Linked DNA regions of Homo sapiens: regions 1, 2, 3, 4, 5 and 7 are each linked to region 6. The links are contacts of gene promoters, found by promoter capture Hi-C in blood cells and fetal thymus (Javierre and others, 2016). All regions are on one chromosome and are shown on one strand. The core of a region is centred on a gene start or on the middle of the fragment in contact, and the rest is flanking DNA. Distances in the headings are between cores, read along the strand shown. Region 1 overlaps PGM3 (phosphoglucomutase 3). Region 2 overlaps RWDD2A (RWD domain containing 2A). Region 3 overlaps RIPPLY2-CYB5R4 (RIPPLY2-CYB5R4 readthrough). Region 4 has its middle 6.6 kb from the start of CEP162. Region 5 holds the start of UBE3D (ubiquitin protein ligase E3D). Region 6 holds the start of TTK (TTK protein kinase). Region 7 overlaps RIPPLY2 (ripply transcriptional repressor 2).

Region 1 (3,993 bases), core at 170-2,669, 3.2 Mb before region 6:
CAGGTGGGGAAAGCAAAGTCAGGAAATGGCATTCTAGAGCAGTGGTTCTCAAACTGGCATGTGTCAGAATCACTTTGAGGGCTTGTTAGCACACAGATTCCTGGGCTCCACTTCTGAGTTTCTGGAGGTCTGGCATAGGATTTGCATATGATAGAAATTTGCATTTCTATCAAGTTTGCAGGCTTTGTTCCCAGTGCTTGTCTGGGGATCCCTTTTTGAGAATCACAGATCTACAGGGGAGCATAGTAAGTATTATTAGATACCTTATCTGAATTAAATACACTATGGAAAGCAAATGTAACTCTGCTTATACAGTTGTTAGCAATCAGTGTTTTCCACTCAGTGCAGAATAGGAGGAAGACTTTTCTTCAGATTTTAGTTGTAGTAAGAGGTGTTCTGGATTTATCTGCATTATAGACCCTAAATTATTTGCTTAGGCCAAACCTGACTTGCAGATATGTTTTGTTTGGCTGGCTGCATTTGTGTGTTTGTCTGTGTGCCACTGTTTAAAAATTCCGTGACTTCTCTTATATATTGGAATCTCTAGCATCTCTTTACCAAAATCAGAAAATGTTCACACATGGCATTAGTCCACTACAGTCAGATAGATGCTGCTCCCCTAAAATAGGACATGCATTCTGGAACTCTACAGACTTCATCCAGTTGCCTCATTCATTCATGTTATTATGCTTTACTTAGTAAGCATTTAAAATGTCAGTGTAGTCAACCAATTTGAGCTCCTTTTCATTGAATTGCTTGTTTTGACATTTACTTGACAGTTCAGTTCTGCCACTTATTTATCCATTTCTTAAATACTGAGCTCTTACTCTCTATGCTCTAGGCTTTGGGACTACAGTATGAACAAAACCATAGTCCTTGCTTTCCTGAAGCTTGCATCATGTCCTTTCATCAATCTTATGATCCCATTCCTGACAAAAGCCTTTTACTTCTTAGTTGTCTCATGTTGAATTTGTCACTCTGCTGCTGTCATGGCTAAGGAATAGCCAAATTTTCTAATAAATTTGATGTGACAATTGCTGAGATTTCAGCAACTTTATGTAAATTTCACAGGCCAGTTATCTCTCAAAGTTATAATTCTTTGCTCTTAATTATCAGTGTTTCTTTTTATTGGTGGTATGAACAAATAAAAATCATTTCTGTTAGAATTAAAGCACATACATCATCTAGTGCTGATTATTTTTTCTATGTAAAGGAGATCACGGTCCTAGGTAAATTACATTCAGAAATACATGTAGCTTTCAAAAAACCTTTATGGGACACCTGTCTAGCCAAACCAACCTGCTTATAAAGTGGAATTTTATGGTAGTATTATAGCAAATATCAGCATAGATTTTGAATGCTCCTTTTTTCACTTTGCAGTGAAAGAATTTGACCTGTAAAAACCACTAATAAACTATGTACTATTTAAAGATTATACACTATTTAAGATTAAGACATTGATTTTTAGGTGGATAATTTTAAGAGAAAATTCTAAAACTCTTTATAATAAATTCTTAGACTGAAATGCATGTTAAATTATCCTGTGTGCTAGGAATGGAAATTAAGTCCAATGAAAGATGCTGTTCTTTTGATGGAGATGCAGACAGAATTGTTTATTACTACCATGATGCAGATGGCCACTTTCATCTCATAGATGGAGACAAGATAGCAACGTTAATTAGCAGTTTCCTTAAAGAGCTCCTGGTGGAGGTATGGTGGGGGGATTGGCTACCCTCTAAAACAAGACTTAGTAGTGAAATAGTTCCATATTTTACAATCATTTGTCAGAAGGGCACAATTTATGACAAATTCTTTACATTAGTGGGCAGAAAATTAAAAAAAGAGCAGTGGTAATACCCAGTCATTTGAACATTTGAGGCATTGGCTTTGGAACCTGAAGGTACTCTTTTCCTCCTTATACTGGCTGAGTTTTGTGATTTGAAGCTTTAGGAAGTTTTGCTTCCATCATAATTGAAACTTTGATGACAGTTCTGTGGTCACTCCATAAAAGCCCTAAATTCTAATAGGAAATCTCATCATCTGATATATTAACTGATTATGATAAGCTTAGTAATGTGAGATTTGTTTCATTTTGCTATTTTAGAAATAAATCTCAGGCTAGCTTTAAGTACACAATGTAATTGGAAATTATTATAATCTGGAAACAGCATACTTTAAGAATTTAATAGATTTTTTTTTTTTTTTTTTTTGAGACAGTGTTGCTCTGTTGCCCAGGCTGGAGTGCAGGGGCGTGATCTCGGCTCATTGCAACCTCTGCCTCCCTGGGCTCAAGCAATTCTTCTGCCTCAGCCTCCCAAGTAGCTGGGATTACAGATGCATGCCACCACACCTGGCTAATTTTTGTACTTTTAGTAGAGATGGGGTTTCACCATGTTGGCCAGGCTGGTCTCGAACTTTTGACCTCAGGTGATCCACCCACCTTGGCCTCCCAGAGTGCTGGGATTACAGGCGTGAGCCACCGTGCCTGGCCAGATACTTTTATTTAAAAAATTAAAGAGGTGAAGATCAGGAGATACAGGCTTCTTAAAAGAGGAATTCTCATAGAATTGTTTTAAATAGTGTTCAAATGTATTTTAGGCTTTTTTCCTGGCATACATGTAAATTTTCAGTCAGACATTTTTGGCATAAACTAAGGCACAACTGAACTGGCTGATAATTTTGGTAGCCTTTAGAACTCTCATTATATTTGTTTTTGTAGACCATACTTTTGATGGCAAGTTAAGTATCATTGTTTTTGTCTAGATTGGAGAAAGTTTGAATATTGGTGTTGTACAAACTGCATATGCAAATGGAAGTTCAACACGGTATCTTGAAGAAGTTATGAAGGTATTGAACCATTTTTGTTTTCTGGTAGTTTCTTAATTAAGATCATGTTTCTGTGAGAAAGATACTGCCCTCATAAAAGTGATTATGTTGTAGTGCATGAAGCTGAGCTGCTGTTCATGTAAAGGTAAAGAGAAATAAATAAGAAAAAATTTAGTTGTCCTTGATGAATAAAGGAAAACTTCTTTCCTTCCTTTTCTTGGAGTTTTCCTTTAGAAAACTTGGAATTCTTTCTCTGTGCCTTTGTAATGAATGTAAGTCTTTCTAAAGGCCTAATAAGCCAGTTTTATAGCTCAGGAATACTTTTCTTTAAGGGCCTAGAGTCACCAATTTCAAATATAAACATCAAGGAAGATAGCTCACCTATCTCCCAGTCTCAGGAGAGTTTAACTTAGGTGTTTGCGTCCAATTTGTAACTATCTACCTGTCACAGAGGTATGAAAAGTTTTATTACTCCTTTAGAGAAGGGCAGTTAACACAGGTGGCCATCCCTATTACCAAGTAAGTTTAGGATAAACTATGTGTGTGACAAATGGTGGTTTCAAGTTTTCCTATTTGAGGACTAGTGTTAAAGAAAAAATAATTCATGACACTTGTTAAAATGGTAAGGCAGACTTGATTCAGGACTGTTGTGATAGGTACAGGGACTAATGTGATGGAGTTTTGCAGTGGTAGGAGAAAGATTGGGCTCAACTCCAAATATAGTAAGGAAAAGTAGGGCTTTATAGCCAAGGAGCAGGGTGTGTGGGGGGTGGTCAGTGGATGAAAAATTACTGAGAGGAAACATGAGGGTAAGTGGGTGGTATTTTGGCTAAACTGATCTAACAGGACTTTTGCTGAAGGTAGGCCAGGGCGGTCACATATTACCTGGGGGATGGTAGAGAATGAGAACTCAGATCAGATGTCAAGAGTGGTCATGTATCAGGATGAGGGATTCTCGCTAAGCTCACTTAGCATGACTCTTATTAAAATCGGGCTATTGGAAGACATGCCTAAGGACAAGGCCTAGTCAGGCCCACCTAAACCTAACTAAAGTTTGGTCAAGGAGAGAATTTTTGTCATTAGCCATCTTTTATCTTAGCAAATTGTATTGGAATGTGTCCGCTTGGCTATATTAAAGGGTGAGCGTTTATCTTTGCTATCTCTTAG
Region 2 (4,081 bases), core at 1,515-4,014, 3.2 Mb before region 6:
TACTTAAATTCTGTGTACCCTGCTCAAATTCATTCGGGGGTTGACCCAAATGCATCTAGTTTTGACTGGGATCAGAAAGAGAGGTCTCTCTAGCTGGTCCAGGCTATGGTGAAATTAGTTCCACCATGTGGACCTTATGAGGGAAAGCCAATGGGCTCAGAGTTTCTGTGGCAAATCAGGATTATGTATAAAACCAGGAAGTGTGAGCAACACTGTGCCCTCTTCAGACAATAACTATTCTTTTGACTTACTACTGGGCTACTTGAGATAAAAGCAAGTGAAAAAAACCTGTTCAAAAGGGTTCCATGAAGGCTGCAGACAGACACCATCAGAACCTTCTCAGGTTCTGAGAGGGGATGGATGGCATGTAAGGAGTTATATGTGAACGCTCAAGTTCACAGGCAATGTATGTTTGATTTAATAAGGAATGTTTTAGAGGTCCCTGTGTTGTGGTCTGCCAACTCATCTGGCCTACTCAATTCACTATGCAGGTGTCCTCAGCTCTTAGCCTAACACATAATAGACCAGTAAGGAATGAAAAGCAAAGAACATACTTGACGATATGCTTCATTTACTTCAGCAAACTTTAAAAAGACACTGTAACTTTTATAAATGAGCACATTTTCCAAATAACCATTTAAGAATATAATAAACAGAATATCCAGATTCTTAAGTTACAAGCAATAGAGACTGATTCTGATTTCCGACAACAAAAGGGAAGATGCTGGGTCATTCAAAGGAAATGCCAAACAGCTGAGCATTCAGTAGGTCAGAAATGAGGGTGGCACTAGAGGTTTAAGCAGCAAGAGCTCACAGCCATCTCTCCAGGAGGCTGCCAGAGGACAACTTGATTCCTATCACTTTCTCTTCCCAAATCACACAGGGAAGGGGCAGTTTCCCAAAATAAGCTGTGTGTGTAGGGGGAGGGGGTTGGGGAATGACGGACTTTTATTATGTGCTCATATCAGGCTGTGCAAACAACCAGCAGACTCCTATACATACAAAGTTGAGTTTTGAATTATACATGTACTTTTTTTTTCTATAAAACCTACACGTCCCCATAATACTATCTGCATTAGTTTTCCTGATAGGAAAAAAAGTATTGCAGAATGCTCAAATTAGACTTATTTATAAAAAAGTAGGTTCTGAAAAATCTCAGAAATAGCTCCAGAAGCAGTAGAGTTCATAACCTAGAATTTATTGCCTTTTCTTTACACCCATCTTTCTGTAGCTACTTTTGCTCATGTAATCAGGAAAAACACCTCTATAAGGTAGGTTGATGGCACATATTGATTCATTTGGATGGAGTTACATCTGTTGAAGGCCTAAAACTTGTAAATGCGAATTATACTTATTGATAGCTTTGTGGAGACTGTGGGGGAAAAAGATTCCTATACTTTGTTGTTTTTAGTGCTGGCAAACATTAAGAAGTGATTCCTTGGCAATGTAAGTCCTATTTCTTCCCTTTGCATATAGGCAAAGTGTCAGGCTCCAGCCTGAGTTCCAGCACAACCAAGGCTAGGATGGAAACATGAATGGCAAGCTGGAGGACCTGGCGGGGCAGGCCTACAGCGAGCCATGGGTTGAAGATCTGAGTTGTGCCCTGAGAGGACACTCATTGTGACCTAAGAAGAAAGAGGCAGTACAAAGTGGACCCAGTTCTAACACCTCCTTGGGATAGGGCCTCCTGCTCCATCATGTCCTCTCTGTAGCCCAAGGACACGTCTGCATCCACGGCACAGAGGGTAAAACCAGATGGTAGTTTCATCAGAAGTTCTGTAGGCTCCCCAGCACAAGCAGCACTGTCTGACATCTAACAGGATGTGTTCCTAAATCCCAGCACCAAGCTTTGGCATCTTGAGAGGACCCAGTAGGAGAATGGAATGCCTCCCGGGAAAGGGCAGCAGTAGCTGACCACAGAAACACGGAAAGCTGCAGAGGCTGCTCAAGACATCTCTTAGCACATGAGACTCGCAGAAATACTTGGGGAGGGATGGAGACCTGGTAATGAAAAGGCTTGGCAAGAGCTACTTAAATAGCGGTTTTTAATCATTAAAATAAACTCTCATTTTGAAAAGCCTGGTGAAGCCTGTGGAGCTTGGAATTTTCAGAGGAGATGGCAGTAACATCATCGGACTGTAGAATTAGATTTTTTTTTTCCCAATAAGGTAATGATGCAGATATCCACACTGGTCCCCTCAACAGTCTCTTGCCCTTTATAGTAATGCATACTGGCACACAGGCAAAGGTTGGATTGAAACAGGCGAATACTTTGTAGACAAGGAACCATGTGTTTATCTTTTCTGGATAAGAATTAAACTAATACTGGTATCAGGATTGCTAGTATCATGAACTGATATAAACAGCCAGAACACATAGCATTGTGTGTCATCTTTTAACTCGTGGGACTTCATGTCTATGAGTCCTTTGCCACTGCTATTAGGATCTAGTTTTACTAAAACACTCGAAATAGGAGTTTAAAGTAAGAAATGAAGTAAACGGGCTGGGCGCGGTGGCTCACACCTGTAATCCCAGCACTTTGGAAGGCCGAGGCAGGCAGATCACGAGGTTAAGAGATTGAGACCATCCTAGCCAACATGATGAAACCCTGTCTCTACTAAAAATATAACAATTAGCTGGGCGTGGTGGCGCACGCCTGTAGTCCCAGCTACTTGGGAGGCTGAGGCAGGAGAATCGCTTGAACCTGGGAAGCTGAGGATGCAGTGAGCCGAGATCGCACCGTCTCAAAAAAGGAAGTAAACATGTCCTTCCTGTTCTCATTTTAAACTTGATTTAGATTTCCAATAATGAAAGACAAGTGGGTGTGTCACATGTGTGCTAGCAATGTGAAACAAATGCTATTCATATTTCTCAATTCATAATTGCAGTTTGATTTTTGATGTTAGTTATGGGCTTTGGATTCCTCTTCAATCAAATCAGCTTCACAAGTTAAATGGATTGTTTTTATTAATTTACAATGAAATAGTTTTTGAATGACTTCACACAAAAACCTAGAGATAACATCACAATTGCAATGTTATAAAGTTTAAAGGCCTATTCATTTCACTGTCAGTTGAAATTCGTTACCAGGTGAAAATTCTGGAGCTGGGTTTTGCACTGAGGATGCTACACAGCCACTAGCCTTTTTAATTTGGTCTTATTAACAGAAATACTGACTTAGTGAAATTACAGGCATAGGCCTCTTAATCGCTTTTTATGAGTCTGAACTTTTGCTTTCAATACCAAATAGTATCTGAAAAACATGCTCACTTTTGTGCTTCTTGAGAAATTCTAAGAATTGGCCCAGATTCATGTGATAGTCATTCCTTAATCCATAGTCACCATGAGCCTCAAGGAGTAACTCTTCAAAAGAATGGAAAAGGCGCAGGTCCTCACCATTTCCTTCTGTCTCCACGCTTTCAGCATGCTTACAGGAAATGTGCTTCCAATTGGGGTACCTAATTGTGTGCCAGAACTCCTCACAGTGCTCTTTGAAACCCTCCACACAGATTATACCAGGCTTTCCTGTCATGCAAAATCCAGTCACATCTAACCTTTTCCCAACATCCAAAATCTTTTTCCTTAGGTCCTGCTGATATATATGGTGACTGTAGATCCACATTCGGAGGAATGTGTTCTTGACTGGCTTTGCTTGTGTAGATGGTTCATATACAAGCTTTCTGTTCAGGAAATAAGATGCACTGTTGTCCTGTAGCCACTGGATTGCTGCACATACACAGAGCTCACCTGGATCAAAAGTCCCTATGTAAGAAGTGAGACCTTTGTTGAGAAGTAGCTGCTGATGTCTGTCAAGTTCAGATGACCGTCCAAACAGCTGCAATGCTACATAGGGGTAGCTGTGAGGCATGGTCACTTGCAAATCAATTTTCACCTTAAAATGAAAATCAAATAGATTTAAATACCATAACATCACATAAGCTAGTTTATCAATAGCAACTGCATGATTTTGAGAAATGTTATTGCTACTATTAAATGTACCAGGTACTTTACATACATGATTGCTTCCTTTTATGCATTATTTCAATATTTATTGAACAACTACGTGTGCCAGGTGCCCTTG
Region 3 (4,244 bases), core at 1,580-4,079, 3.9 Mb before region 6:
GCACTAGAGCCAATTTGGAATCCCTGAGAACCTCAGACACAAGGGGATTCTGTCCCCACTTGCCAACTCTTTTTTCATAATCTTTCACCTCTTGAGATGCTCATGAGAAATACTATAGGCAAAGCAGACACGAGAAAGGCCCACTGGTAGCACAGCTGTGTAATATCTGCAGCAAGATTAGAGGGTAGTGCAAGAGTACAAAGAAAAGTCCATCCATAGTTTAAGGCCTACAGGAGTACAAGGTGTTAATGAGCTACTGCCAGGGTAAAGGGAAAATTTCACCCATACCACAGATCCTATCTGGAGGCAAAAGCCATCTATTGATGGAAAGGGGCAGTAAAGCCTCCCACCACCGGTCCCTGTACTGACAGGAGGCAAATACTAACTGCTGCTGGAAAGAGTGTAAAACACACACGCTCCCTTATCCTGCACTGACACTAGGCAAATGCTAGCTAAATACTGGGAAAGAACAGAAAATGTACTCAGACCCAGATTCGGTGTGAATACAAAACACTGATACTCTCACACTGGAAAAGAGACAGGGAAACTGCTCACATCCTAGACCCTTTGCCCTGCCCTCCCCACCTGATACAAGGCAAAGTCCAGCTGCCACAAAGGGAAGAGGCTCATGAAACCTGCCTGCATTCTAGATGCTGCATTGAGTACGATGCAGGAGTTATCTGCCCTTGGGGAAGTACAAAAGCAATGAGAAAGCTCAGCCCCTGGGGCTCAGGTGCATAAAACCTGTCTAAGACTGAGGCTGAAACAGGAAAACTGCAAAACCCCTTCTGCCCCCACTACAAGTCTTACACCAAGTAATAAGTAACAGCACTGCCTTTTGGAGAGGGGGAAGAGCAATGGAGAAAGATCCTGCAAAGATATATAGGGTAAGGTGTCAGCTAAGAGTAGAACAAGAACAATGGGGGAAAAAAACCCTCTAGCATTGCAGGCCCTGAATTAAAACCAAGGTAGCAGTGGCCCACCACTGGAGGAATTTGAAGTCTGTGGTACACTGATGGTAACAATAGCAAAATACACTCCAAATCTAGCTCAACTACTTACTAGATTGATTCAACCTAACTACCTGCCAGAAAAAAAAAAATGTACTACATGTCTGAGTGTAAATACCACAGTTTCTATTATTCTTCTATATGTAATGTGTGACATTCATTCAAAAATTACAAAACACGGCTGGGCGCGGTGGCTCACGCCTGTAATCCTAGCACTTTGGGAGGCCGAGGCAGGTGGATCACAAGGTCAGGAGATCGAGACCATCCTGGCTAACACTGTGAAACCCCGTCTCTACTAAAAATACAAAAATTGGCCAGGCGTGGTGGCGTGTGCCTGTAGTCCCAGCTGCTGGGGAGGCTGAGGCAGAAGAATGGCGTGAACCCGGGAGGCGGAGCTTGCAGTGAGCCGAGACTGCACCACTGCACTCCAGCCTGGGTGACAGAGCAGGACTCTGTCTCAAAAAAAAAAAATTTACAAAACACATCTTTTTTAAAAGATACAACAACTCATTGTCAAAAGAGAAAACAGCAACACAACCAGAATGTATTGGAACTATTAGACATGTCAAAATACCTATGATTGATTTTTTTTTAATCTAGTGGAAAATGTGGATGACATCTAACAGATGAGAAATTTCCAGCAGAGAGATGGGAACCATAAAACAAAGTCTAAAGGAAATAGCAAATTGAAAGACATGATATTAGAATGAAGAATTTCTTTAATGGGCTTATTGGCAGACTGGAAATAGAGGAAAGACTCTGCAAACTTAAAGAAAGAGCAATAAAAATTATTCAAACATAAACAAAAGAGGAAAGAGTGAGATAATACAATGCTGCATCTAAGAGCCCTGGGACAATATAGGCTAACATGTTTGTAACTGGAATCCCAGAGGAAGATGCAAAAGAAATATTTGAAGAGATAATGGCTGAAAATTTCCCAAAATTAATTTGGAGAACCCCAAGCAGGAAAAATACAGGGAAAACCATATCATAGTCAAACTGCTAAAAACCTAAAAGAAAGTCTTAAAGGCAGTCAGAGAAAAAAGAAATCTTACTCGCTGCTATGATTTAGACATTTGTCCCCTCCAAACTTCATGTTGAAATTTGATCCCCAGTGTTGGAGGTGAGGCCTAATGGGAGGTGTCTGGTTCATCGGGGTAGATCTCTCTTGAAAACATTAATGCCCTCTTTTGTGGGTGAGTTCTTACTCTATTAGTTTCTGTGAAAGCCGATTGTCAAAAGGAGCCTGGCACATCCTCCCCCACCCACCCACTCCTGCCCTTCCCCCTCTCTCACCATGTAATCTTTGTACACGCTAGCTCCCTTTCATCTTCCTCCTTGAGACCCTCACCAGATGCAGATGCCCAATTTTAAACTTTCAAGCCATCAAGAATCACGAGTCAAATAAACCTTTTGTCTTTATAAATTACCCAGCCTCAGGCATTCCTTTATAGCAACATAAAATGAACTAAGACACATACTATGGGAAAAAAAGAATGATGGTAGAGTTCTCATCTATGCAAACTAGACGATAGGGTGACATATTTAAACTGACGGAAAAAAGAACACTGTCAATCTAGAAATGTATGCTCAATGACAATATATCTTTAAAATGAAGGCAAAATAAAGACATTTCAGAAAAAAAGTGAGGGAATTCATAGCCAACAGACCTGCACTATAAAAAAATGTTAAAAGGGCTGGGTGCGGTTGCTCATGCCTGTAATCCCAGCACTTTGGGAGGCCGAGGCGGGTGGATCACAAGGTCAGGAGATCGAAACCATCCTGGCTAATGTGGTGAAACCCATCTCTACTAAAAATATAAAAAATTAGCCAGGTGTGGTAGCACACGCCTGTACTCCCAGACTGGGGAGGCTGAGGCAGGAGAATCCCTTGAGCCTGGGAGGCGAAGGTTGTAGTGAGCCAAGATCGTGCCACTGCACTCCAGCCTGGTGACAGAGCAAGACTCTGTCTGAAAAAAAAAAGTTAAAGGAAGTTCTTCAGCAGAAATCTGGATCAACAAAAAGGAATAACAATCACAGAAAATGGTAAAATGTGGGTAAACATAAAATATAATTTTTTAATTATCTTTATCTCTTTGAAAGATAAGTAACTGTATAAAGCAAAAATAGTAACATATTGTGGGGTTTTCAGCTTATATAGAAGTAAAATGAATAACAACAACAGCATAAGGCACAGAAAAGGAAAATGGAAGTATATTATTAAAAGGTTATTATACTATATGTGAAATAGTATATTATTTGAAAGTAGACTGATACATTAGAAATGTATATCATAAACCCTTAGAGCAGCTGCTAAAAAAAAAAAAGCAAAGAAGTATAAAAAATAATAGTGGAGAAAAAATGGTTTCATTAAAATATAATGATAACTATGTCAACAATGGATGAATCCAGGCAGTTGAAGAATTTATGGAATTCACTGCATCACACTTGCAACTTTTTTGTAAGTCTGAAACTTTTTTCAAAATAAAATACTTCATTAAAAAGTATTTAATGACAAAAATGACCCTTAAGAAATCTTCAATATTTACCCAATCCCCACAGTGTGCAAAGTCTACAAAAGAAAATACAAAACTATACAAAGGAGAGAAACCATATGAAACCTATCAGGCTGTTGCTCACATTTGAATTGATAGACCATGAATCTATATTAGAGAACTGTCCAGAAATAACGAAGTTTCTTATTAAGGAACTAGTATATTTCCCAACTCCAGGAGCCAACAATATGGAAACACGAAACATGGAAGTCCCTCAGCTGGGTTCTATCTTGTGATAACATTAGAATATCCCTACTGTCAGAGGCGTTCGAACCAGAGCGACTCCATTTTGAGAGAGGGCTAGGAAAAAGAGGCTGGGACCTGCCAGGCTAAATTCCGAGAAAGTCAGACATACCTAGCCTCTAGATGTTTGTGGTTAAGGGAACAAATTAATAGTATCCACTAAACAGACCCAGACTTGGGAGTATCCAGATATCCTGATATCTGGAGAACAAAGGCATTCCTAATTTTTCTTCAAAGATAATAATATTGATTCTTGCAAAATGTAGTAATTAAGAAAATTAATCCTTTATCACAAACCCTTGTAGCAGAGCACATCTCCACATGTATACAAGCATTGTACCTAGGGTGGATGCGTTCCTCCTCTTACTCTCAGGAACACCCTACTCTGTCCTATGGAGTAGCTGTACTTTCACTACTTTACTTTCTTAATAAACTTG
Region 4 (3,900 bases), core at 907-3,406, 4.2 Mb before region 6:
CTGGGTCATGTGGACCAAGCTTCCAGCGTGCTTACACTACAACCTGGACCTGTTACAGACCGTTCTATTGCTCTGGGTAACACTAAAGTCCAATAAATGGGTTAGTACAATACTCGCAAATGCAGTACATGCTGCTTTTAAAATCTACAAGGGCCCATGAAGCACTATGTCTTTTTCTGGGTGGGAGGTTCCAATGTGTAACAATTTGTTTTTTATCTTTATCTTTTATAATCATCTAAAATTTCAAAAATATGGCAGTAGTCTAAAATTTTGTAGGGTTCATATCCCACCCTCTGGTGTTCATGTGCCTAATTAGGGCATCTAGAATAATTGCCACTTCTTCCTTATCTAGTGCAATTAACATGATGCCATTCAGTAGACTATCATGATGTTGTGAAATGACAAGCCAATTAAGTTTCCTACAGGCTACATTGTGATACAGAACAGCAGAGTTAATACAGCTATGGGGGGAAATAGTGAATGTAAACTATTATCCTAGCCAAGTGCATACCAACTGCTTTTGATGTTTTTTCCAAAGGTGATTTAAAAGACAATATTTTCCAGATACATAGAGGTGCTAGTCTCTGCCATCCCTCCCATGAAGAGGTCTTGATTCTGATTTACTCACTTGGATGTTGGTGGCATGTTTTCAGAGACTTCCACTTAGTACTTCCTACCATAACGGCTCCACAGATCCTGGAATCAACATAAGGCTCCTTTCAGTTACATACTTGGAAATTTTATAAATTATTTATTTATGGACTGGGGAAAGAATCAAAGAGTGAGCCACAGACCCATTGTAACCTCTGTGAGACATACTTGGGCTAGGACTCTTTTACCTTTCCTCATATGCCCTCATGCTAACTGGAAGGCCATGATAGCATTTCAGGTTCCCTGGCATCAGTATTAGCTCATACCTTTTATCCAACAATCCTTGAAAAGTCTAACTATTCTTATTTCCAGTTTTCATCTAGCCTCCAAACACCCCCACTCTAACTAGAGACCCATGGAAGCTTTTCTGGCTCTCTAAAGCAGTTAGCATTAGGGTCAGCTCATACTCCCTATTCAACAGTCTTCAAAAAACTAACTATAATTATTTCCTCAGTGCAGTGTTACCCTAGTAAATGGTCATAGGTCCCTTTGTGGAAAGATAGGGAGAATGTTTATAATTATTCATGTGACAATGCAGGGTCTTTCCTTAAGGGCACTCGCCCTGCCTTTTAACCAATGAGATCTAGGTCTACAAAATTACATAAATCTAGAAGCTGGATGAAGGACCTAGATTTTCCATTGTGATAGCTGATGCTCATATTCTTCTTATATTCTGATGGAGCACATCACATGAAGATATTTTGGTTGTTGTTGTTGCATACACACACACACACACACACACACACACAAATTGCCCAGTCAGCTATCCATGTACCTCATCCCTCAAACTGCAATTTATTAGCCATTGCCACAGATTCCTGCAGGTCAAGACAGCCAGACTGCTACTATAGACTTCTGTCAATTTCAGTAATTGCAACCATCTTGCCTCTGACAGTTTAGTATCACCACATATACTTTTCACTGAGAAATCCCATACCTTCACTGATACTAGGGAGACTAGTTTCAAGCAGCATCTCCTGTTACTAACCCTGACATGGGGAGGATAGACATCACCAGGTTTTTCAGATTCTGATGTTCCCCTCACCAGCCAATTGTTTTCTGTCTTATTGAAGGGTATATCCTCTGGATCCTCTCAGGGAACAAAGTCAGGTGACAGATGCTAGAGATCATATAAAGAATCCACACTAACATTCCTATCTTCATGAGCCTTCTCAAATCTTCCTTAATACCAGCCAAAGCAATTTCAGCATTTCTGTCTCATTTTCCTATTTGCCATCATCACATGCAGACTTCAAGGAAACTTCCCAGAAGAATATTAAGACCAGCTCCAGATGTCCTTACTAGGAAATTGAGCCCCAATTCAGGAGTGAGTGCTCTCATGTCAATAAAATCTTCCCTGTTCAGCCTTATTTTATTTCCCCCACCAGTCAACACTCTCAAAATTCACCCCTACATGTATTTCCCTGGTTTCTTTTAGTACATATAATCTAGGACCTGCAATTCCTATAAACCATTTCTTCCTGGAGAAAGAACTATATTTCCCAGCTCAGGTGTTTTGAGACCTGACCCAAGCTACTAGCAGGGGGACAATGAATGGTGACCAGACAGATCTTGAGGAGGACAAGCATCATCTTGTGAGTTTCCTCCCTCACATAAGGGTCTTTAGGTCTTTTCAAGGTCTCTAGGCAGGAAGAGGATGTTCTGCTCTAGTAAGGAGAATGGGAGTGCTTCTGCCATTATTGAGGGTTCAGGGAAATCTGAGAGTTCAAGACTCCCAGACTTATCCACCCAAATGTCCATATTCCAAGTTCAGTGTTCCACTATTTGCTATCAGAACCCTGACTCAGAAGACCCAGAAAGGTTGTGGCTTCAATTCCCTTTGCAACTGTGCCACTCTTACAATTTGATCTTGGGCATGACTTTCACCACCTACTCTACTGCAGCTGCAGGAAAGGATGATTTCCTCAAATGCTGATATAAGCCCTTGACTTTTATAATGCACATTGATTGTGGCTGACCTGAGCCATTAATTGTCTTTATTTCAAGGCATCCAAAGCAATTAGTAAAATCCAGTCATTCTACAATATTAATAATTACCTTTGCCATCATACTATATGAATAACCCCTCACATTCCACCTGTACCTCTGCCTAACCAATCTCATGTGAGAATCTTAGCAATTGCATTCCACTGGTTATCACCACTCCATCTCTTTCAGCAATGGGGTCTTCATTGCCATCTTACTGATGAGTTCTTCAGTTCCCAAATCCTATCCTAATGGTCTGCTTTCTAGGGATAACTCTAATACTATCTGTCTTTCCCAGGGTTCCCCTGAAAGGATAACATTAAACATAGACTTGAATGAAAGTAATGTATTTGGAAATGAGTTGTCAAGTAGTAGAAGTGATGAATAAGGACAGTGACGGGGGAGAGAGAGAGAGAGAGAGAGAGAGAGAGAGAGAGAGAGAGAGCGAGCGAGCCAATACAAGAATGTATCATCAAACCATTGCTGTGAACAACTGGTTCCAAATCACAGCAGACATTCTGAAAAGTCTTATGAAATGTGTATCAATACTGTCTACCCTAGGGTGAAAAGCAGAAGGCATTTATTCATCGGTTCCTCCCCACACTGGTCAAGGGTTAGCCCACAGAAGTTAAGTCCCTTACACTTCCGATGTGCAAGCTTTGAGTGCTGAATGGGTTCCCTCAAGTATCAGAGAAACCCCAGGGAGTGGAAAGCAAGAGGTTCACATGCAGGCTTAAGGCAGGCACACTTTTGACTTAATCTGTGAAGCTAGTCAAGCCTGAGCGAAACTGGTCCCAGCAGCAGTGACAAGAGTAAAAGACGAGGCCATGAACATGTGAATGTGACATATAAGACAGTCCAATGGAGCACACAGAAAAGTAGAGTATCAACCATCAAAATTGGAACTAATAAAGGACCATCGGTTAGAAAATGACTCTATATGGCCTATTTATGCTTAAGACTACAGATTGTGACTGGAAAAATACTTGTTTCTGGCTAAAAGATATTATAATCATTTTCTTCATTAGGTTTCTTAATACAACAAAATAGTGATATTTGTAATCCAAAACATTTAGCTTAAGAAATAATAAGCACAACTTCAAATTTCTACCTTATCGACATATTTTAATAAAGTAATTCTGTGTTCTAAGAGTTCCATTCAGTAAATCAGTAATGTTCCATATAGCCCTGTCAGTAAAACTATTTGGAGGCAAACACACTCACTTTATGAATATTTATTTATAAATTAATATATTTATAGCA
Region 5 (4,237 bases), core at 1,543-4,042, 3.1 Mb before region 6:
CTCTCTACAGTTCAGGGCCTATTTGTCAGGCAAACAGTTTCCTACATTTTTGGTAATTATCATTTTTTTTGACTGCTTTAGCTGGAGTCGAAGTCATTTTCCCAATCTTTACATTTCTCAAACGCCATAGAACTCTAAGATAGTGTAAAAATGTTCAAACACAATTTACTTAGCTTAAGAAAAATAGTTGTGTGCCATTCCCCGCCCCCCTCAGGGTACAGGAATGGAGGAGGCCCGAACAAGTGACTATTGTTATGTTGCAACTTTAAAAGGCTTAGGAATCAAAGGTGATAATTGTTAACAACACCCGTTTGACTCTTCTGACTTCCTCTTAATAAACTTCGGTACTCCTTTCTAAGCCCCACGGAGAACATGAACCATCGCGGGCCTACGTGTCTCCTCAATGCTAAAAGAACCCACCAGCCGAGAAGGCACAACGCCTCGATTCCTTCAACAAAGAGGGTACTCCGCACGCCTCCATCGCACAGGTGCGACCTCTGCCCCAGCCTTGCGCACCGCTCCGCCCCAGCAGGGGAGGCTCGGGACCTGTCCCCGGCTCCCCGGCCCCGCCTCCGGCCTCCCTCACCTGGGGCCGCCCTCGCGCCTCTGCCCGGCCCAGGCCCCGGCCCCAGCCCTGGCCCTCCAGTCCCCGCGCAGCTCCCGACTCCCCGTAAACCAGAGGGCGGCCGACCAGCTTCGCAGCTCCTGGCGGGGCCGGAGCGGCAACACCCCCGACGCCACAGCAGTCAGACTCGCAAGGCGTCCCCGCGGCTCAGGACCTAGCCGGGCCGAGAAGGATGCTCGGAGCCGGCTACCAGCCTAGCGGCCGCACTGGGGGCAGGGACGCTTTTACCTGCTGCTGGCTCGGCCGCTTCTCGCCGGCGCAGCTCTCCTGGCAACCACGGCAGCTACACCGAGACCGGGAGCCGAAGGGCCTAGTGACAGCTCCCAGAGTGCACCGTGCTCGCGCCCACGCCGGCGTCGACGTCTGAGGCCTTCGATCCCCGCCCCCGATCGGCTTCCTGCCTCCCGGCGCTAGCTGTTGCCACAGCGCCCTCAAGTGGACTGTCGCGGGAAGCGGCCATGGCTACCAATTTCAGGAGTGGCTAGAAAGGGGGTTAGCAGATGTTTTCATTTGAAGAGATAATAGGAACTGAAAACAGCTTTTAAATATTATTTGAATAGTTTCTCAATATTTCATATGAGTAACCTGCATCCCAGAGAGGTTAGGAGACTTGTGAAGTTAGGAGACAAGTAGTTGGTGTCAGATTTGGAACTATTTTGAGTCTAGAGCTCTATCAATCATATCTAGTTACTCCAAGGTAAATTGCACCGTTTTGCCAACACCATACCGTAAAAAAATGAAAGTTTTTACAAATACGTAACTAAATATATAAAAATCTTTTAAGCTAACAAAACAATTATAAAGAGTAAGTTGTGCTACGGAAGTTGTATATTTCAATATAATGTGTCAATATTTAAGCATTCAATAGCCTCGGGTACTAAAGGTGGAAGATATGAAGAGTTGAAATCATCATCCTTCAAATAGATGAATTATTTGAGACCAAATAATAGTAAACTTTATTTTTTTAAGTGAGTTGTTGCTTCCATCTATAACTTCAAATTATTGTGATAGATATAATAATTTGTGCATCAACATAATAAACTTTAATCACCCCAAATACTGATTTTAGAAAAATTGTCAAGCTATTATCTTAAAATATATGACAGGATTTATTTATTTAGAATTTATTTATGGTTTAGGCTGGGCATGGTGGCTCACACCTGTAATCTCAGCACTTTGGGAGGCCAAGGTGGGCGGATCTACCAAAAACAGAAAAATTAGCCGGGCATGGTGGCGCGTGCGCCTGTAATCCCAGCTACTCGGGAGGCTGAAGCAGGAGAATCGCTTGAACCCAGGAGGCAGAGGTTGCAGTGAGCCGAGATCGCGCCACTGCACTCCAGCCTTGGCGACAGAGCGAGACTCCGAAAAAAAATAAATAAATAAAAGCAGCTCCTTGTTTTTAAGAAGCCCTATTGTAATTCTACCCGGTCTTATATTTTAATAGTTCTTCATTATAAGTATTTACATTATACCAGGTTCTTTACTGTGTCAAACTTTTCAAAACTATCTTCTGGTAGTAAACTTCTCCAACTTCTCTTAGTTTTTACTTTTGTGAAAGTGAATAGTGGAGCTGTACATACGTAATCATTCTCATCTTCCTTTTTTACCCCCTAAAAAATGGTTAGTCCTGATAGACTTCAGCCACACTCTTCTGCATTAGGTAACAAAGAACTTCCTTATATTTTTGCACCTGTTTCAATTTTGGAGCTATCCTGTCTAAGTTGAGAAGCAATGGCAAGTCAATTCTTGAAAATTTTGTCGCTTTAGATAGAGGCTAACAAACGACCCTTGTTCATAAAGAGACCAAGATAAAGTGGGTTTGGGGCCGGGAATTCTGTTCTTGCATCTCCTGGGGACAAAGCCCACCTGTAACACTTGCCTCCATCATCTCCCTCCCTTCGAGCTAGCCAAAGGTGTGAACCCTGGGTCTGATTTTTATGGTCATTTCCAGGGATGCTAACGCGCCAAGTCACGCTCATAAGAAGCAGAGTGGGGCGATAGCTAGCCTCTCGCCGCCCACCTTTCTCAGCACTCTGGGCCAAAGCCTGGTTTTGAAAATGCGCGCCCCGCCCCGGCCTCCGGGGTCACGCGCCTTCTCGGTGGTGCACTCTCCGGCCGGCAGGTGGCGCTGTGAGCTGGTAGGCGGCGCCAGCCCTGCGATCTGGCACAGGCGCCTGCGCCGCAGCGGGGCTGCCGCTGGTTGGTCCGCACGTGGAACCTCTCCTGGTCCTGTTGACCCGGGCCCCTCGGAACCTCCAGCTTGGTCCGGTCTGGGACTGGAAGCCTGCCATGGCGGCTTCTGCGGCGGAGACGCGCGTGTTTCTGGAGGTGCGGGGACAGCTGCAGAGCGCGCTTCTGATCCTGGGGTAAGAACTGGGATTCTAGGCGCAGTGCCCAGCTCGCTTTACTGCTGCCCGGGGGTCGGGGGCTGGTGAGTCTCTCTCTGTACGAGGGATTTTGAGTTTCTTCTTTCCAGTTGCGTAGAGCCTCTCGATCACTCAAAGTGAAGCTTTCCCCTGTAGTCGGCTCCGCCACTCCCACCCCTACTGACAGTGTGGGTATCTTTGGGGAGCTTTTTAGAAATTCAGGGTCTCAGCTCCACACCAGACTTATGGAATCAAAACTTATATTTTAACAAGATTTCCAGGAATCAAATGCACATTAAAATTTGAGGAACAGTGATGTAAAACACTGTTGGCAGTGCCCGGCGTTTCCAACAAAACAATGCAAAAAATGATTTGTCTGTCTCTCTTCGGGATCCTCCTTACTGGATCAGTTCCTATGTGAGCTTCTTGTTTTGTAAATAACCTCGGGTCTTTTCGTCCAAAACTGCTCTTTGCAGAGAAACCACACAATCATTCAATAAACGTGAGTTTAGTGAACCACTAAGACAGGTTGTAGACTTCTTACTGGAGCTCGTTCATTTATTCATATTCTTCCTTCCAGTGAGAACGTCAAACTTGTTATTCGCTACACAAATAACTTTTAGGAAAAATGTTCTCTATTTTGTTTGACAGCAGTTTTAATGATTTGTGGTCCCCTTGTCTATTCCTTTGTGATCGCTGTTTCAAAGAGAGTAAGTTAGAAGTTAAAATCCTGAGAATGGTATTACACGGTGCCACAGGTAGATTGATGCTTAATTTTTTCCTCTTCCCTAAATCTGCCAGATATCTGGTGTGGCAATTTGGAATATGGCGTGAGAACTGAGTTCAAATGCTAGCTTCCTCACGAAATTAGAATAATTTAATCTGAATTTCTTCAATCTTGAAATGGGAATAATAGTACTCTGAATGTATTTCTTTTTCTCTTTCAAAATTTATGAATTTGGACAAATATCTCCAATTCTGGTGCACCTTGTAGAGTAATTAGGAACCCAAACCCTACCAAAATAAAACAAAAACCACACACACACAACAAACCCTCCCTTCCTCTCATGCAGGGGCCTTTCACAGTTCCCTTGGACTACTCTCCTTTGTTTAGGCAAGGTACCCGGGTGGCTCATGCCTGTAATCCCAGCACATTGGGAGGCTGAGGCGGGCGGATCACGAGGTCAAGAGATCAAGACCATCCTGGCCAACATGGTGAAACCCTGTCTCTACTAAAAATACAAAA
Region 6 (4,326 bases), core at 1,692-4,191:
ATTTTGAAGGAAAGAAAACATTTGGAAATAAGTGAGTTTTTTTGTAAGTAGCCTTTAAAAATTGTATGTAGTTTAAGAAAATTTTATGCTGTTGCAGGATAACTATAATTTTAGCATCCTACCTATCCATAGAAAACTAAATCTCTCCCACTGCCACTTGTACTAATTAACTTAGAAAATTCTCCCATCAATGATTTATTCATTAAACCTACTGCTCCAGTCCTAACATAACCTTCTTTACAACCTTAACCATTCAACATTATCTCTGTATACCTCATACTTACTTGTAAAACCAAACCAGCTTTACAAAAAATAAACAAATGAGACAATCATTTTCTTCTCTCCAAGTAACCTAAATTTCTGCTAGAGGCCCTGATAATTTCTTGGTCCAACAAACTCATAGTTACCGTGGTCTAGACCTTTGGAATTTATAGGACCTCTTGTGACTGTCAGGTTTCTCTCTGTGGAACCCCAACCAACAGAAACAGCAAGAATAACCTTCAGACAAAATGTTCACACTGAAATGTACTTTTTACTTTCTTCAGTGTTAGTTTTTTAAAAAGATAACTTGAATGTCAGTCTTCTGTTCAGGATATTTTGGTTATTACTAAGCAATATTAAATTCAGATTTCCAGAGAAGCTATTATTCCTTCTATTAACTTCAGTCACTTTCAACAAAGCCTACATCTTTACTTTTATAAATAAAATTTGTTTCTACTTTCTACTAAAATATAGTGCATGCATAACTTTGCTTTGTCGTTTTAAATTTAATTTGGTCTGACCTTAATTTTCTATTTTTACCTCCTATTGCTTTCCTAAGAAATTAGTCTGTGAAATGTCTAAAAAACACACATTGCCATCTGTGGCTTTGCAGATGCATTCCTCATGCCTGAGTACCCTATTCTTCCTCTAATCAACAAATAAAACATTTGTGTTTTATCATGCTAGTATTCCTATGATGCCCAGCATGCATTACAATGTAGCATAGTGAATATATAAATTCTCATCTAGAAAGAAACTATGGTTTTAAGCATCTTTGAATCTTCCTCAGTACTTAAAATACTCAATTGCCTTGATGTACAACCTTTGTTAGTGACATAATTAAGCACAATTATACTCCATTAAGATTTTGCTTAACACTAAAACTATCATTTTCTAGGTTTTTTCAAAGTGAACAGTCAGCCACCATGATTAGATCACAGGTTCTTCCATTTATTTTCAATTCCTCATCTATTTAAAGGTTAGTATAGATGTAAGAAAATTATCCAAAGGTCACCATTCAAATGACCAACCATTTGAAATACAGTAAAGAATCAGGCTTCTGAGCTAATACTTTTAGAAGAGCTAGAGTATTAAACTCTGGGCATTTTCACCCATTAATCATTGTTCAATAAATGTTTAAGTGCCTACCTACCATGTGCCAGACACCATTCAAAGTTCTGTGGATATAACAGACAAAAACCCTGCCATCATGTAGCCTGCATTCTAATGGAGGAGAAAGACAATAAACACATGAGTAAATTATAAATAAAGTGATTAGTACTATATCTTTACCTTAGAGGATACCCAACAAACAGTTACTAACTTAAAAGAAAAGAAAAACTCACCTGTAGTATCAGCAGAAATTTTATTCAAGCTTAGTTCATCAGTAAGGTCTTCATTTTTAAACTTATTTTTAATGTCTCTCACTTTGTTCATTATGGAATCAATTGTCAATTCTCTGCCACTTAAATCCTCGGATTCCATTTCTAAGAAAAAAACTGAACAGTCATAACTCCTACTTTAACTAGCATCAAAGAAAAAAATGCACTAGCTTTTTAGAACCCAGACGACTAAAGCATTCGTTTTGTGAACACATCTAAATGCAGCTATTATTAGGCTAGTATTAATGGAGGTAAGTGCACAACAACAAGGTACACATCTTTGTAATTTATTCACCAAGGTTTCATAGGCCAAGTATACTTTTTCCCCCAATATAACATCAATGACGTCACACTGTAGAAATCTGCAAATTTAGTGTCACTTAAAAAAAATATGATAGAGTGTTTGCTTGGATTTTGGTAGCGACATACACATAAAGATTGCTTGGATTCTGGTAGTGACATAGACATAAAGAATTCGTTTGGCAATGGGAATAACAATTCCTTTATTCGCCTGCTTTACTTGAGTAAATCTTCCAGTGCAAGTGCTTTCAAAGCAGAATATAAACATGATGGGGCTTTACTGATAATTAGGAAATCCGCAGATTTATTCTTGTGCATATCTAGCAGAATCACGATTTGCTACCTTAATCTAACACTAAGAAACTATTGTACTGGTACTGAGCACTTGCTTATCTGCATGGTGGTGGTGTTTGTTCAATAAAGTGTCTGCAGTCTTATTGTTAATCGTATCTTTGTGACTCTCAAACACCAACTCAGTGTCACTGATAACAATGCTGCCCCGTCTTCAGGTTTAACAATGAAAAAAAGTCATAAAGTTGCAGCAAGGTATCACTCCACCTCTTAAGTCAGGTTTGAAAGATAACTGTCAGATCACGGCCACCCGCTTCTTTCCCAGTTCTAACCCCCAAAACAAGAGAGACTGTCCTTTGGAAAACGATCTTGTGCGCAGGTACCCCACCACCCCTTCTTTCCAGCGTGGGCCACACCCACTTCTTACTTCCTCAACAAAACCTCCTGCATCACCCCACCGGCCAGACCCGCTGAGGCAGTGAGACATCCCCTCCCCCTCCAGCTCGTTTAGCCGCGTCGCATACCTGGCTCCGAGCTGCCCCCACCTCGCCCCACCCCTCACCGACCAGCGCTAACAATGAGCCCCTACACCGGCTGCGGCTGTTCCTCAGTGCGCCGGTGCACCGGTAAGACAGAACTTACCTACAGAAAGCTGCGCTGGGGAAATGAAAAGATGGAACCCAAACTCCTTTCCGCAAACACGTTTGAATTTCCCCGTCGCTATCACTACGGTCTCCTATTGGTCAATGCTAGCCACGTAGAAGCGACAGTCGTGATTGGTTCTTGTGCGACGGGGGCCGCCCCTCCTCCTGCGTCAGGCTAGGCCCGCCCCGGAAGAGCCTGCGGCCGCGACCCCACCCGTGCGGCGCCTGGGTTGGTAGGGTGCTGGCACTTTGCAGGCGTTCCCCGGACGCCCGTGGGCGGGCTTTCCTGGTCTTTCCAGTTTAACCAGGCCGAATTTTTGCCTGGGAGGTAGCCACTCCCGAGCAAACCTACCCAGTGAGAGGAATATAGGGGCAGGGACGGCTGCTCCTAGCATCAGGACCTAAAAGATGCACCTTGGGCCGGCCCTTTACTGACCCCACCGCCACCCTTCTCCTTCGTTTCCCGCGGTTCTCACAGCCTGGCTTAGAGAGGATGTGGCAAGAAAGGATCTTTCACTGAGCTACGTTCAGCCCTGCCGCCAGCTCAAGAATTTCAGTGCTTTTTATCCTTGAGCTTCTGCTTATGCCCTTCCATTATCCTTAAATGACTCCACGCTCTGTCTTCAAGCCAAGACCCTCCCCCTTGTCAAAATTCTGCGCAGAACTCAAGCGCCCATCGTGATTGCCCTGTCTGAAGTCGCCTTATCGGCCCCCCTCCCTCGAAGCCTGCCCCACTTAAGGGCTCAGGTGTCCTCAGGGGTAAAAACATCTCCCTAGTAATAATCTTCGCGGGTGCGAGGCTCTGCCGCTAAGTGGCTTTGTGGTCCAGGGCAACGGTTACTCCTCGTCTGCAAAACTAAAAGGGATGTGTCTGTTGTGCCAGCATTATGACATATATTCTGTGGTAGGACGGGTTGGTTTTGTGTATGTATAGGAAACTAACTGCAGCTGTCACTTGTTAACTCCAAAGCTATCCTTAGAACCCTCACATTCCCAGCTCTGGATAGCCACCCAGCTAGCGTGAGAGCCCTTCTCAATCACTTAATGCATCTTTCTGTGTCAGCTAGCTAGTATTTCTGCTTCAGCAGAGCAAAATGACTTGCTATACCATGGTTGGCTAATCACTTACCTTTGCACCATTGCATCTAATGCTTCTGCCTGGAAAGAGTTTATTATTCCTCCAATTCTCGTTGATCTGTTTGCGGCCTGATCACAAAGCTTGCATTTTCCTTAAAATACTGTTGCTGGATGACCTCACCCTAACACTTCTTTCTGTACTCTCGTTTGGTGGTCTCCTTCAGTCTTCTATTTTTAAATACCATCTATATGTTGATGGCTCCCAAATGTGTATCATTAGCTGAGCTCTCCTCAACTCCATACTCAGATATCCACTGCCTACTTATTAACATCTTCACTTACATGTCTCATACGCATCTTGAACTCAAAAT
Region 7 (2,858 bases), core at 3-2,502, 3.9 Mb before region 6:
CAAGCTGTAAATTGGATCAAACAAATTTACACTAAACCCTGGATATGCATAAGATCAATGTTTACCTTACTTTGTACATTATGGATATATTTATTCTTATAATATATAGAAGATTTGTCTTCCAGTTTCTAAATTCCTTTGGAAAAAATGAATTGAGTTCTACCACTACATTAAAAACTTTAATGATAGCCAGCTTTATAAAGATGACAAAATATTATGCACCTTACAAAAAGGTGGAAATAACCTATTATCTTATTTAAAACTCACAGATTTAACTCTTATAGAAGTAGACAACGTAAGTTTAAAAATGTATAAAAACCAGTATTTTAAAATTTTTGTCTATGCACTCACAACTTGAGGCATAGAAAGACTACTTCTGACCTCAACTTTGATTCTATGTGCCTGTCTTCTCCCCATTCAACTAAATTTGTGAATATCATATGAAATGTTGAGAAATTATATATGTTTTATACAAATAACTGGCATGTAAGTATTATTACCTCAGAATTTCAAAAATCTGACAAATACTAATCTTGCCTTCTGGTCTTCATCAAGGAAAAGAAAGAGGAGAGATAAGGCTGAATCACCAAGTACAGTGCAGTCATTTTAGTGCAGGGTAAACAGCCCATATATCCATACAATGGAGTCATCCCAACAAATGGAAGATTACATTATGTTCAGTATGCTCCACTTTAAAAGGCAGAAAAACAAACAATGCAGTTTATAAATGTTTCCAGCAAAAATCATAAAAAAAGTTTATATTTTTGATGCTTAAACAAGTAACTATCAATTATTCAGTCGTTCAATAAATATTTTAGTGATCCCTTGTGCCAACATAATTCACAATTTAAAGATGAATAAATCATGGTCCCTACCCTCAAAAAGTTGACAGCTGAATAAAAAGAATAAAACACACCATATTAGTCAAGATATAAATGAATAAAAATAAAATATAAGAGAACAATTAAATTGTAACCGTACTTCAGAAAAGAAAGGAATTTCTTATATAAGAAACAATTTATTTCCTAATGCGTAACTGGAACTGGCAAACCCAAAGAATGCTAGTCATTATGATACTCTGTCCAGAATTTCTCACTGTGGGCCATTTTTCTCCCAGGGCCCGCATACTTTTCTGAGTTTCTTCCTGTTCTGATTCTTCTCCGTCTCCTTGTGGACCTCTCTTTCTCTGTGTACTGGTTAGATGCTGGCCTTCCCTCAGGTTTTCATTGAGAACATCAGCCCTCCCTCTAAACAAACTAGGATGACCTGGCCCACTGTCATGATTTCCCCACCCTACATTTACCATGGACTCCCAAGTCTGTATTTCCACTTAAGATCTTGACTCTGGGCCCCTAACTTACGTACGCAGTTCTCTACAGGATATCACTCTTTGGATGCCCCATAGGCACATTAAATATGATAAGTGGAAAACTTGACTCATGATCTCACCTCCCAAATCTGTTTTCGGCCCTAATTTACATTCTTTTAGTACAGCATTCACCTGCTCACCAGCCACAAACTTAGGAGCCATTCTGGCCTTTTACCTCTTCTTCACCTAACATATCCAATACGTTATAAAGCCTAATCTATTTTGTCATTCAAGTATTTCCTAGATTCACCCAGTCTCACCCTCACTTCCACTGTCTTACAATGGTTCATCATTATTTCTTACCTGAAAAATTGCAGAACTTCCAGTTTTACTTTTGATGCCCTGACTAAGCCTATTTAACATATAACCCCCAAGACTACCTTCGGAATAAAGCCCATGGGTTCCCAACACTACATACAGGATCAGGACAGAACTCTGTACAAGAGTGTGCAAGATTTGGCCTCTGATTACCCTGCTAAAATGACCACAACTTCACACACCTAAACTCCTTGGAGTTCCCGCAAGGAGCCACACCGTTTCATGATCCTGCTTCTCTTTTCCAATGCTATTTCTTTTGCTCCCACTTCCCATTCATCTGACTAACTTTTCCAAGACTCAGCCAGGTAACCACAACTTATAATATACACTTCCCTGACCCTTCCCCCTACCACTGACAGATTTAGGCACTTCGTGCCCTGCCCATACTTGTAAAACTAACCAAACTAAATTCCATTACAACACTTGCCATGTGCTGTGACTACTTTTTCCTGTGTCCTTCACCAGTGCTAGCACACGGTAGGAAATTAGATGTAATGACTTCTATGTGTTATTTATGACCAGGGGCACTTTACAAACATCATCCAGCTCTTCATTTAACAGCTCTCGGAGGCAGGAAAACTGCAGAATTCTTAACATTTCACCTGAATAAAAGTGACACAGAATCTTAGATAAAGGCTGACTTCCTGTGACTAGGAACAGTAAACTAGCTCCGCAAGTTAAATAAACTTTTGACCCTTTCTATAACCATTCTCAATAATCTTTAGGATTTTCATTACATTTCTATTTTTTCCTACTCGGCAAACTTGTAAGACTGTAACTGTTAATCCCATTCTTCCTTCCAGATTGCAAGACAAAAGCAGCATACACACTCTGCCTGATGCGAAGTCAATTTCATTCGAACCCTTTAGGATTTAAAAATAAAAACTGTTTTGCCAGCACAAGATGTCACCGCTCTCTTACCATATCATCCCCTTTCCCTCTTCGTAATATATTCATCAAGTTCACTGAGTATGTATTCATCAACAGTCCCTTTACGTGGGACCGTGAGCCCCTACCTTTTTCAATTTGATGAGTGAGAAGATAAGTAACCTTGAAGCCAGATTTTCAGAGAGAGAGAGAGAGACTGCAGGACCAGCTGCGGAGCTGGGCTGCGCGATGCCCCTGGCTCCTCCCTGGGGCTGGAGGAGCGGGAGACCTTCGGCGAGGCCTG

The links. The method cuts DNA at HindIII sites, captures the fragments that hold promoters and counts their contacts. A CHiCAGO score of 5 or more calls a contact.
Region 1: a contact is called between a fragment that was not itself captured here and the fragment with the promoter of TTK in region 6, in 1 of 17 cell types (monocytes). The highest score is 5.0, in monocytes.
Region 2: a contact is called between a fragment that was not itself captured here and the fragment with the promoter of TTK in region 6, in 4 of 17 cell types (total CD4 T cells, fetal thymus, monocytes and 1 more). The highest score is 9.0, in total CD4 T cells.
Region 3: a contact is called between a fragment that was not itself captured here and the fragment with the promoter of TTK in region 6, in 1 of 17 cell types (monocytes). The highest score is 5.4, in monocytes.
Region 4: a contact is called between a fragment that was not itself captured here and the fragment with the promoter of TTK in region 6, in 1 of 17 cell types (non-activated CD4 T cells). The highest score is 5.8, in non-activated CD4 T cells.
Region 5: a contact is called between the fragment with the promoter of UBE3D here and the fragment with the promoter of TTK in region 6, in 9 of 17 cell types (non-activated CD4 T cells, total B cells, naive CD4 T cells and 6 more). The highest score is 17.2, in non-activated CD4 T cells.
Region 7: a fragment that was not itself captured here is called in contact with the fragment with the promoter of TTK in region 6 in 2 of 17 cell types (activated CD4 T cells and total CD4 T cells); the score reaches 5.2 in activated CD4 T cells.

Annotation. Positions count from the first base shown.
Region 1 is chr6:83,177,527-83,181,519 of GRCh38, reverse strand. It overlaps PGM3 (phosphoglucomutase 3), which reads left to right. Exons shown (of 13, transcript NM_015599.3): 7 at 1,553-1,710; 8 at 2,764-2,847. Among named protein-coding and RNA genes, the nearest start is that of PGM3, 14 kb to the left of the region's middle. The HindIII fragment of the contact is 1,054 bases long and covers 893-1,946 here.
Region 2 is chr6:83,195,406-83,199,486 of GRCh38, reverse strand. RWDD2A (RWD domain containing 2A) reads right to left here. Exons shown (of 3, transcript NM_033411.5): 3 at 552-3,892. The coding sequence ends at 3,215. Among named protein-coding and RNA genes, the nearest start is that of RWDD2A, 4.1 kb to the right of the region's middle. The HindIII fragment of the contact is 1,829 bases long and covers 1,850-3,678 here.
Region 3 is chr6:83,875,591-83,879,834 of GRCh38, reverse strand. All of the region lies in intron 4 of RIPPLY2-CYB5R4 (RIPPLY2-CYB5R4 readthrough), which reads right to left. All of the region lies in intron 2 of CYB5R4 (cytochrome b5 reductase 4), which reads right to left. Among named protein-coding and RNA genes, the nearest start is that of CYB5R4, 18 kb to the right of the region's middle. The HindIII fragment of the contact is 9,219 bases long and covers 1-4,244 here.
Region 4 is chr6:84,232,273-84,236,172 of GRCh38, reverse strand. No RefSeq gene overlaps it. Among named protein-coding and RNA genes, the nearest start is that of CEP162, 6.6 kb to the right of the region's middle. The HindIII fragment of the contact is 2,281 bases long and covers 1,016-3,296 here.
Region 5 is chr6:83,064,396-83,068,632 of GRCh38, reverse strand. UBE3D (ubiquitin protein ligase E3D) reads left to right here and starts at 2,792. Exons shown (of 10, transcript NM_198920.3): 1 at 2,792-2,991. The coding sequence starts at 2,915. It overlaps DOP1A (DOP1 leucine zipper like protein A), which reads right to left and starts at 962. Exons shown (of 39, transcript NM_015018.4): 1 at 854-962. RefSeq lists a silencer at 464-733 and enhancers at 904-1,053, 1,084-1,153. The HindIII fragment of the contact is 10,412 bases long and covers 1-3,136 here.
Region 6 is chr6:80,003,264-80,007,589 of GRCh38, reverse strand. It overlaps TTK (TTK protein kinase), which reads right to left and starts at 2,941. Exons shown (of 22, transcript NM_003318.5): 1 at 2,877-2,941; 2 at 1,608-1,748. The coding sequence starts at 1,746. RefSeq lists enhancers at 3,340-3,459, 3,030-3,904. The HindIII fragment of the contact is 2,460 bases long and covers 1,639-4,098 here.
Region 7 is chr6:83,854,170-83,857,027 of GRCh38, reverse strand. The region is part of intron 3 of RIPPLY2 (ripply transcriptional repressor 2); the gene reads right to left. The region is part of intron 3 of RIPPLY2-CYB5R4 (RIPPLY2-CYB5R4 readthrough); the gene reads right to left. Among named protein-coding and RNA genes, the nearest start is that of RIPPLY2-CYB5R4, 2.2 kb to the right of the region's middle. The HindIII fragment of the contact is 3,285 bases long and covers 1-2,858 here.